Regions from separate parts of the Homo sapiens genome. Here all the other regions are linked to region 3. Evidence: promoter capture Hi-C in 16 types of primary human blood cells and fetal thymus (Javierre and others, 2016). All regions are on one chromosome and are shown on one strand. The core of a region is centred on a gene start or on the middle of the fragment in contact, and the rest is flanking DNA. Distances in the headings are between cores, read along the strand shown. Region 1 overlaps SLC9A9 (solute carrier family 9 member A9). Region 2 overlaps SLC9A9 (solute carrier family 9 member A9). Region 3 holds the start of HLMR1 (hepatic lncRNA metabolic regulator 1).

What was found. The method cuts DNA at HindIII sites, captures the fragments that hold promoters and counts their contacts. A CHiCAGO score of 5 or more calls a contact.
Region 1: a fragment that was not itself captured here is called in contact with the fragment with the promoter of HLMR1 in region 3 in 1 of 17 cell types (endothelial precursors); the score reaches 6.4 in endothelial precursors.
Region 2: a fragment that was not itself captured here is called in contact with the fragment with the promoter of HLMR1 in region 3 in 1 of 17 cell types (naive B cells); the score reaches 5.3 in naive B cells.

What each region holds. Positions count from the first base shown.
Region 1 is chr3:143,766,270-143,769,765 of GRCh38, reverse strand. The region is part of intron 4 of SLC9A9 (solute carrier family 9 member A9); the gene reads left to right. Among named protein-coding and RNA genes, the nearest start is that of SLC9A9, 80 kb to the left of the region's middle. The HindIII fragment of the contact is 2,070 bases long and covers 803-2,872 here.
Region 2 is chr3:143,673,624-143,677,182 of GRCh38, reverse strand. The region is part of intron 5 of SLC9A9 (solute carrier family 9 member A9); the gene reads left to right. Among named protein-coding and RNA genes, the nearest start is that of SLC9A9, 170 kb to the left of the region's middle. The HindIII fragment of the contact is 590 bases long and covers 2,006-2,595 here.
Region 3 is chr3:142,925,114-142,928,511 of GRCh38, reverse strand. HLMR1 (hepatic lncRNA metabolic regulator 1) reads right to left here and starts at 1,837. Exons shown (of 5, transcript NR_038455.1): 1 at 1,616-1,837. The HindIII fragment of the contact is 9,222 bases long and covers 1-3,398 here.

The DNA.
Region 1 (3,496 bases), core at 588-3,087, 840 kb before region 3:
TGCTCTTCTTTATCTAATACAAATTGCTGTACTTTATTGACCTTTTCCTGGGATATTAATGTTTCAGGTCAGTATTGGGCATAACTTGCTGCTATATTCTTGTATTTTTGTATGGACTTTTTATTCTTTAGCTCACATGGAATTACAAGTTAGCATAGCTTCCTGGAGATTTGGAAGGCACAGGACTACTCTTAGAAAATAGCAAAAGAGAGCATTTATAACAGTGTGGAAAAGAAGCAGTTCTCAAGTTTTCTTGTACTTACCTCTGGCTTTGCTTTTGTTTCAGAGGAATACTTTAGGGACAGAAGAATAAAACATTAAATAGACTGGACTGGTTATGCGATTGAATTCAATATGGGCTTGTTTTGGCTAATGTTAACATGGGTAGAGATTACATGAATCCATCAAGGGGAATAAAGAGAAGTTAGATTTCTGGGTATAGGAAACGTATAATACAGATACTGCTTTCCCAGAGCAGGGTCCCAGGCGAGTTTAGATTGTAATGAGGGTTAGAGAAACCCTTTTTGTATTATTAAGATTACAAAATACAATTTTATTTGCATCTACTTTGGCAGCTCCTTATTTCATTTTTAATTATGAGCAGTAATAATATTTACTATCTATAATACTATGTATCACTTGCCAAGTATTTTACATATGTTTATCTCCTTTAATCCTGATAATGCTATCATGTTGTTTCTTCTCCCCATACAAGTGAGGAAACTAAGGCACAGAAAAGATAACTCGGCCAAAGTCACAAAGATAGCAAATGCAAATGGGGCAACCTGAGTAGAAACAAGCTTTTAAACACTATGCCATGCTTAACCTTTTATGACAGACTAAAAGATCTGATTGTATTTTTGCTCTTCATATGTCAATATAAAACATCTTGTCAAAGTGATAAAATACAAACATTTATACACACTGTTGCACAGTGGCAAGAGTCTAATCTTGTTTTCAATTAAATAGCATTAGGATGTCAGCATTGGAAACTTTCCCAAGAAATCCCATTTCCCTTCATGGGCTCCACATTTTGCTGAATGAAGACACATGCACAGAACACTAATACGCCATGTCATTTGTTCAACACCTGTTAGGTACCTATTATGCATATAGCACTGTACATCTCTAGCCATATTATACATAATCTATGTGTCTTATTGTATGCGTAATTAGGAGTTATTTTCTCTAAAATAATTCTTTGATATCTTAAACAGGTTCCTCCTATGTTATATGAGATATATCCCCTGTAGTTCCAATGCCTTGTAAGAAGTATTCTATCACTACAGCACATGCACAGGGAAATGTGGTACATCTCATACCAAGAGATGAAACTTTCATCCCTTAAACAAAATAGAAGAATCTTTCTCAACATCTATAACTTGGGCATAAAATACAGGGTAGGTTGTTGTGAAGATTAAATAAATTAATATACATGACACTCTTAGAATAATGCCAGATATGCAGTGCCCCCTTAACAAGTGGTATTCTTTTGATTACTTATTATCACAGGAATCATCATTATTTTTAGGTAGAAATGTTTCTCTGATTTTCCCCCTCGCTGAGAATAAATGAGAGTGAGGAGCCCCTGATATGTGTACCCTGGGTGTCTGGCAGTCAGTCAGTGAGCCCTGTGTGACAGTGAGGAGAGGAGGTAGTGTGAAGAATAAGAAGGAAAAGAAAGTGGTGAGAAAGATGGAAAAGTCTAGCTGGAAGGGCAAAGGGAGTAGTTATGGAAAGCATCTCAATAGCTGTCATCTATTTACCTTTAATTGCCTTGTCCAAAATTTAACAGCAAAGCAAACATTAGCATTTACACCAGCTGTCTTCAAGAAAATATATTTTGATTATTAAAAAACTTCTGAGGAAGTGAGAGACATAATTACTACCTGTATAGTTAATTCTAAATCATTAAACTTCCTCTTTATAATCATTAGGTTATAAGATGGAAAAAGGGCATAGAAATGCGTGAAGTGATAAAGATGGTTGGAAATTAGGCATCTAAATAGCCATTTCTTCAAAGAAATAGGCAATTTTTAAACATGTATTGAACTTTAAAAAAATTGTGTTGTAAAGGATAGACAAACACACTTGCTATTAAAGAAATTCTAAACTGTTGTACCTCCATTGAAACAAGACTGTACTTAAAGTTCCTTACCACAAAATAATAGAAACCAAGGAGTCTATGGTGTTCTTTTCAATAGGTGTGATGCTACAGGTATATAAGAATGAGGTGAGTCACTGGCCAGAGAGAGCTTTCTAGTTGAGGTTAACAAGACATTTGTCCGTGGAACTATCCTCCCTCCAAACAAACAAACAGTTAATGTGGCCCTTGAAGTTAATTTTCTGTAAACACACACACACACACACACACACACACACACACACATACACAGACACTTACTGTTTCACAAACCAAATCACCTGAAAGGCAGCGCCATCTCATCTGTGTATATGATAGGGAAGGGGTAAATAAATTTACTCAGTATGGGAAATTCATCTTCTAAGCTCTTGTTACCCGGTCCTGCCCAAAGACACCCTGGCATGAATAACATGCAGGAAGTTGGACATGTTACTCTAGTCCAACCTCAGTTGTTTCACTCTGTCCTCTGCAGAAATATCTAGAGGTCCAGGCAAGAAGCATACCTCCTGAGTGAAACGTGTTATAAACACCATAACCATAATATTAGCAGAATTCTCATGAATTCTAGCTCAAGCGCACTCAGATCATAGTGGTATTAATGATACAGATACTGCTTTCCCATTGCTTACAGCAATTGTGGCCATGATTACCATACTTTTTAAGAATAAATTTGCAAAACAATAACTAGTATACTGAAATGATAGAATTATGGGACATGTGGAAAAAGCTTTAGAACTCTTGCAGTCTAAGGCTGGGCATGGTGGCTTATGCTTGTAATCCCAGCACTTTGGGAGGCCAAGGCAGGCAGATTACCTGAGGTCAGGAGTTCTAGACCAGCCTGGCCAACATAGGGAAACCCCGTCTCTACTAAAAATATTTTTTAAAAATTAGCCAGGCAAGGTGGTGGCACCTGTAGTTCCAACTATTCAGAAGGCTGAGGCAGGAGAATCACTTGAACCTGGGAGACAGAGGTTGCAGTGACCCAAGATCAGGCCACTGCTCTCCAGTCTGGGTGACACAGTGAGACTGTGTCTCAAAAACAAAAAAAACTTTTCCAGCCTACCCTCCACCTACAGCTAAGAAAACATACCCAGTTGTAGAAATAGTCACATTTGCAATTCCTTAATGTTTAAAGCAATCACCCCCACTATATTTAAATGTGTGATGACAGCAGATCTTATGTGGTAGCCATCCTCCAACATCAGGACTTTCTTCCTTTCATACATATTAGCTAAGTATGTTTATATTTATTCTGGCCTTGTTGTCTGACTTTACATCCTTTTAAATTTTCTTTCTTCAAATATCAACTTATCCTCAATATGAGGCACTTTCTCACCTTTGTTTTCTCTGACT
Region 2 (3,559 bases), core at 1,051-3,550, 750 kb before region 3:
CTTTTTTTTCTTCCAGTCTCCCCTTAAAATATTGTGTGGGACTACTACTTTCCGACTTGCTGGATAAAAATATTTGGTTTGTGAGTTGTAATCACAGACTCAACTCAGCAATGAACATGTGCAGTCCCATGTAATAATGGCAAAGCGAGAGTCAAACAGTAATCCACTGTGTCCCCAAACTCCATGTGTGTCATCTTAAGCTGTCTGATGGTCTAGGGAAGTCTCTTTTTACAGGCTTGAGATGTGCAAACAACCCTCCCCATGTGGGAGTTCAGATTTACAACTCACAAGTAGTAAAAGAACTCCCTTCACAGATCTTAACCTCTAGTCTAGGATCTTTCACATTCTTAAATGGCAGAGAGGTTCAATGGAGTCATGTAACTGGTTTTCAGACACGTGCTGGGTTTTTTTGTTTTGTTTTGTTTGTTTTTGTTTGTTTGTTTGTTTGAGAAGGAGTCTCACTCTGTCCCCAGGCTGGAGTGCAGTGGCGTGATCTCGGCTCACTGCAACTTCCGCCTCCTGGGTTCAAGCGATTCTCCTGCCTCAGCCTCCCGAGTAGCTGTAACTACAGACACACGCCGCCACGCCCAGCTAATTTTTGTATTTTTGGTAGGGACAGGGTTTCACCATGTTGAGCAGGATGGTGTCGCTCTCCTGACCTCATGATCCGCCCTCCTCAGCCTCCCAAATTACTGGGATTACAGGCATGAGCCACCACACCCAGCTGCTTTTAAGATTGTACATCTCACTACATAACATGTGTTTTTGTTTGTTTTGTTTGTTTGTTTGTTTTTGCTTTGTTTCTCATTTTAAACATCTAATTTAACATTGTTACAAGTGTGTGTGTAATTGTTATAATGAGAATTTTAGTATAAAGAGAAATTGGTAGGACATATACTAGGTCAGGTGTCCCCAGCCTCCCGGGCCACAGACGGGTACAGGTCTGTGGCTTGTTAGGAACCAAGCTGCACAGCAGGAGGTGAGTGGCAGGCCAGCCAGCATAACCACCTGGGCTTTACCTCCTGTCAGATCAGCGGCAGCATTAGATTGTCATAGAAGTGTGAACCCTATTGTGAACTGCGCATGCGAGGGATCTAGGTTGTGTGCTCCTCATGAGAATCTAATGCCTGATGAGCTGAGGTGGAAGTTTCATTCCGAAACCATCCCCACCTCGCCCTCCTCCCCATCCCCCACGAGAAACCTGTCCCTGGTGCCAAAAACATTGAGGACCTCTGTACTGCGTTGTAAAATTGGGTTACTTGGGGAGAGAGGAGATATGAGTTTAAGAGAGGAAGAGGTGGAAAAAAGAGAGACATACCAAAAAGGAAAAGAAAAAAGACTATTAAAGCAAACGACTAAACAAAGAGTATGCATATTATGATCATATTTATGGATTTATGTGGAAACACATCTGTACACTTGAAAACTTCAAAATTTCATAAAAATGAGAAAATAACCAATCATTTTTATATGATATTAGTAAATCACTCTGAAGTATAATGAGAAAATCTTAAAGGAAAATCTTCAAACTCAGTATGATATTGTGTCTGCCGTGAAGTGAAAAAAGAAATGAAAATCAATGACTTCTCATATTACATGTAAGTCACACATCTCTGCTTGCTCCAGTAGCTAAAGTGTGCTAAGAATCCCAAGTGCTTGATGAAGCCCTGAGCCCTCGTTGTTGGCTTTCATAAGGAGACTACTACTGGCTCATGTTAATTGAATTTAGAAAATTTACTGTGGATTATCCTGTCTGGTGCCTAAATTAAATGCATGGATGATAATTCATTTACTGAAATTAGAAGCCAGGAGGAATATAGATACAAAGTCAAAGTCTCTGTTTAGCTAATGTTTTGCCCAACCAGCCTGCACTTGACAAGTGTCATAGCACTATGCTATTTTTATTATTGGGAGTTAGGAGACCTCAGGTCTAGTTCAATCCCTGTTACTATGCACAAGGCATATTTCTGATGTGCAGGGAAAATTCAAGGTGGCCACTTAAGCTTTCTAGGCCTTATTTGCCTAATATATTCCTAGAGGAATTAGATGATTTTTAAGATTACTTCTTGCTCTATATTAGTAGGTTCTCCAATGTGAGTGAACGTAAAACTCACTTGGAGAGTCTGAAAGTACTAATTAGGGGGTTCTGCCTCCTGAAATTCTGATTCCGTAGGTCCAGGGTCAAGTCCAACACCCCATTTCTAACAAGTGTCTCGTTGATGCTAGTAGCACTAGTCCACAGCCCCGATGAATATAAAAACTGAATGAAATATTTGCTTTTCTGAGTAAATGTCAAGAATTATTGAGATGAAGGAGGCTTGGAACTGATATTTTTAATCTGAAATAGATATCATTTATTGCACTGGTAGAACCTGTATGTAATTTCAAGGGTGCACATCTTACCTTTTATTATAATTATAATAAACTTCCCTTATCATATAGTTCCTCCTCAGAGAATGTGAACTGCAGGAGTCCTAGTTCCCAGTAGAAAGTGCTGTTAGAAAACCTCTGAGATTTCTACCTCTGGGAGTAGTATCCTCTTGAGATGCCACCAGCTCTGATGTCTCTTGTTTGTCTCCCTTGCCCAAATAAGCTTTCCTAGCATGTACTACCTAAAATCACGGCTAGGTGTCGCTCTAATTCTGGGGCGCACCGGTTTCAAGGGGAAGTGTGAACCAGGGCGCTGGCACTGCTCGTGTGTTTATGGGTGAAAGCATCTAAGAGAGGCCCTGTGAAATTGCCTGCATAAAAGGATCACAGTTAGGGATGTCTCATAAACTAATCCCAAGAGGAGCCTTCCACTAAAAATAAAATAAGCACGTAATAAGGGTAGAAAAATTTCCTAAAAATGAGGTTGGGATTGGTGGTCAGAGCGTCCTGGATATCAAAAGTGTCAGTTCATTAAGGCAAGATTAGTGTCATGGGTGAATGGAGCATCACAGTTTAATGCTTTAACTTATTGGAACCTCACTTTCCACTTCCTTAAAATAGAGACTATCAAAACAAAACAAAACAGAAAGTACCTTCCATTTCTTCAAAGAATTTTTGTCAGATCAAATGAAGAGCTGTATGGAAAATTATGTGTAAATTGCTAAGTGTTTTAAAACACATTTTTATTAGCAGTGAATTCTTCTCAGGCACTTTATTGGATTTTTAGATAACACTATCATGATATTCCTATTTATTCCTGAACATAAAATTTCCAGATACCATTTTCTTCCTACATGACCATAATTAAAGAATTTGTTTTCTTATGTTTTCATTACTTGTCCATCCACTTCCACGGTAAATCTCAAATGTAAAGAGACTAAAAAGAAAAAATTAATAAAATTATATTTATCCTCATGTGGAATTTCTGCTTTTTGTAATAGCTACTATACACTTAAATATTTAAAATTTAGAATATTTTCTCCATGTTTCCAGATGCTGCCCCCCTAGACATATTGAACATTAGGAAATGTTGTCAGAAAGTCTTTTCTACTAGTCTCTGTTTTGGATTATCTAGATCATAGTTCCTCTGATAGAATAATCAATATTATTAATATTATTAATTAACAAT
Region 3 (3,398 bases), core at 588-3,087:
TAAATAAAGGAGGCAGAGCCCAGAGAGTATAGGCTTGTTCAGAGTCTCACAGTGTGAGGGTATAGCCAGGACCAGAAGCCTGCAATCCCTACTTCCACCCCAGTCTCTCATCCTACACAGCACAGCTTCCAATGTAGAAGAAAATGGCTCTATCTTTGTTTGTTATATCAGATTGTTTAAAGTATTTAAGATATGTGCTTTAGATATCATTACACTGGCAGATAACAATATACAGAGTAATAAGAATTTGAAGATAACTTTGAGAATCACTTATTATAACACATACATTAACAAGAGAGAATGAATATTTACTAAGTATCTACCACATCCATGGCACATGGCTATTCCCTATAGAGACTACTGAATGAATAAATGATAGCATGAACTTATGTAACACTCGCCATAAGCCAGGTTGGTCTAAGTGCTTTACATTCATTAAGACGTTTAATCTTCACAACAACTCTGTGAATATCTGTTATTATCACCATCCCCAGTTTACAGATAAGGAAATTGAGGCACAGAGAACTTCACCAAGATCAGGCAGCCAGCAAACAGAACTTTACAACTTTGGTCATCTGACTCCATGGGCTATGCAAACTATGATCTACCTCCCATCTTAAGGAACAGAAACATAGGAAAAGGTGAATGGTAATGCGGATTTAAATAACAGTTAATGACAACTATAATGGACAAAAGGCAATATCCAAGAGGCAAGTGAATAGTATAAGTCAGAACTCTTTGCGTGCAAGCACCAGAAACTAAATTTAAAATCTCTTAAGTTATCTCAAAAGCTATTTATTTGCTGGCAATAGTAGAAGGCATTGTGGGCTGAATTTTGTCCCCCCACAATTCATGTGTTGAAGTCCTAACTCCCAGAACCTCCAAATATAACCATATTTGGCATAGGGCCTTTAAAGAGGTAATCAGGGTAAATTGAGGTCATTCGGATGGATCCCAATCTAATCTAACTGGTGTCCCTGTAAGAAAGTGAGATTAGGACAAAGACACACACAGAGGGAAGGCCAAGTGAAGGCACAGAGAGGAGGCCTATATGCAAGCAAGAAGAGAGTTTCCAGAGTGAAACCAACCTCCATGACACCTGGATCTCAGATTTCTAGTCTCCAAAGTCACAAGGAATTAAATTCCCATTTTTAGCCACCCAGTCTGTAATACTTTGTTAATGCAGCCTGAGCAGAATAAAATAGAAGAATACTGGGTGTTTCATAGAATTAAAGAGTTACAGGAAACAGTCGGAGCCAGGAATCTCAAGGACTAGAACAAGGACCTCAACACCTGCAGAATACACACACTATCCTCCCCACACTTCCAGCTTCAGAATTTAAAAATGCCAAGGATGGCCTCAACTGATCCAGTTGAGGTCGCATTCCCAACCCTAAGCCAATCATTTAATTCTCCTAGTTCAGTGATGCATCTCTACCATCCTTCGCCGGTCTGTGTCCCCAGATCCTCCTGTGGTTGAGTTTCCCAAGAGAGTAAACCTGGTTTCTGCCAGGACAAGAGAGAGGCTGCTGAAAGATGAGGAAGGAATCCAGAGGTCTGACTGCTTTCTCCAAGGACTTTCCATAAACCTCCTGTTTTCAGCTCCGCCTCTTACCTTTTCTTTCAGAAGAATCTGGTGCCTCCAATTCTGGGGACTTTACGGGTGCTGTGCCATGAACTAGCTTCCTTCTTAAGCTCCCCATCTGCTGGTACTGCAGTTTCAGCCCCTGTCCATGTCCATCTCCAAAAATGAGATGACATGGACTTTTCACCTATTCTTTCTGTCTTGTGGACTTGGGCCTTTTTGGCTTCTTTGCTGTCATTTTAGTAGCATTTTGAAAGAGATGAAAGAAAAACACAGGTTTTTAAACTGCAATGTTTAACCAGAAGTCTATTTTGGGAATTTTCAAATAATCCTCTGTGAAGGTGCCACAGTGGCTTACTTCTGGCTTGGGAAGGTGGCAGTAGCACAGAGGACAGACAGGAGAGCAGACTAGGAAAAGGGTAGGCAGGCTCTGGCCTCTGCCCCCGCATCAAGCAGAAAATCTTGCTTTTTATGTTTTATACATTGTCCTTCTAAGATTTCATTTGAAGAAAGAGACTTTAACTAAAAATAGAAAATCTTAAAACCACTGTGCAATACCAGCCTGCCTCCTACATATTTTAAAGAGTTTAAATTATGGTGTACATACATGTATTCTGGTTTTTTTTCATTAGATTGTGTTACAAACATGTTTCCATATTTATGTGGCTTTTTCATCATCAGTTTCTTAACCTAGTGCCTGGCACATGATAGGCTTTTAGTAAATAGTGATTGATTGAATGAATGAATTATATTTAACAGCTGCTTCTAATTTATTTGTAATTACAGAGAATAAGCTCTTCCATTCATTCATTTATTCACCCAACACATATTTATTCAATACCTATTATATGTCAGGCATTGATGGATGGTGCTGAGAATACAGGAATGAGTAAGGCAAACCGTCCTTTCCACACAGAGCCAACAGTCTAACGGGGGAATCTGACAAGTGAATTGACAATCACAATATGTATAAAAGCTATGGGAAACAAAAAGCATCTACAGGAGCACATCATAGGGGTCCCTAATGCAGACCTGAAAGTTGGGGAAGTCTCCCTGGAGGAAAAGACTTAAAGTGAATCCTAAAAAACTAACAAAACAGTTTCTGGTTCAGCATGTAAGAAATTTGGAAGTTGCCACTCTGTCCTAATGAGTAAAAAGCTGAACAAACTGAAAAACCAAATTAGCCAGGCATGGTGGTGCACACCTGTGGTCCCAGCTACTCGGGAGGCTGAGGCATGAGAATTGCTTGAGCCTGGGAGGTGGAGGTTGTAGAGAGCCGAGATTGCACCATTGCACTCCAGCCTGGGTGACAGAGCGATATTCTTGTCTCAAAAAAAAAAAAAAAAAAGCAGTGAAAAATCAACAACTCTTCTTAGCTCTATAAGAGAAGTGATGGCACAGGACAAATTGCTTCCCCCAAAATTGGGAAGACCAACAGGCAAATACAGAGAATCACAACTTCAAGAGCAGAAACCTCCATGGGAACCAGTGCTGGCACAGAAAAGTCTGAACTTGTAACTGTGAATTGCTGGAGCCAGTTCTCAGACAAGTGTGAACAAGTCTGAGAGATAAAAATCCAGGGGAACTGAATCATAGAGAGGTCCCCACACTTTTGTGGGTTTTACCTCCAGGAGCACTACCAGGTCTCACAGTGAATATTAGGGAAAAAAATCCCCTCCTGCTTCCAGCAGTGGGAGGGGAAAAGGAGCCATTTTGAAATATGCTAGAGCATTATGTTCTTAACAAGGTCTGTCCTCAGGAGAAACTATGTAACCAGAGCCTGACCTGCTGGGGTTAAATATCCAACTCAAGT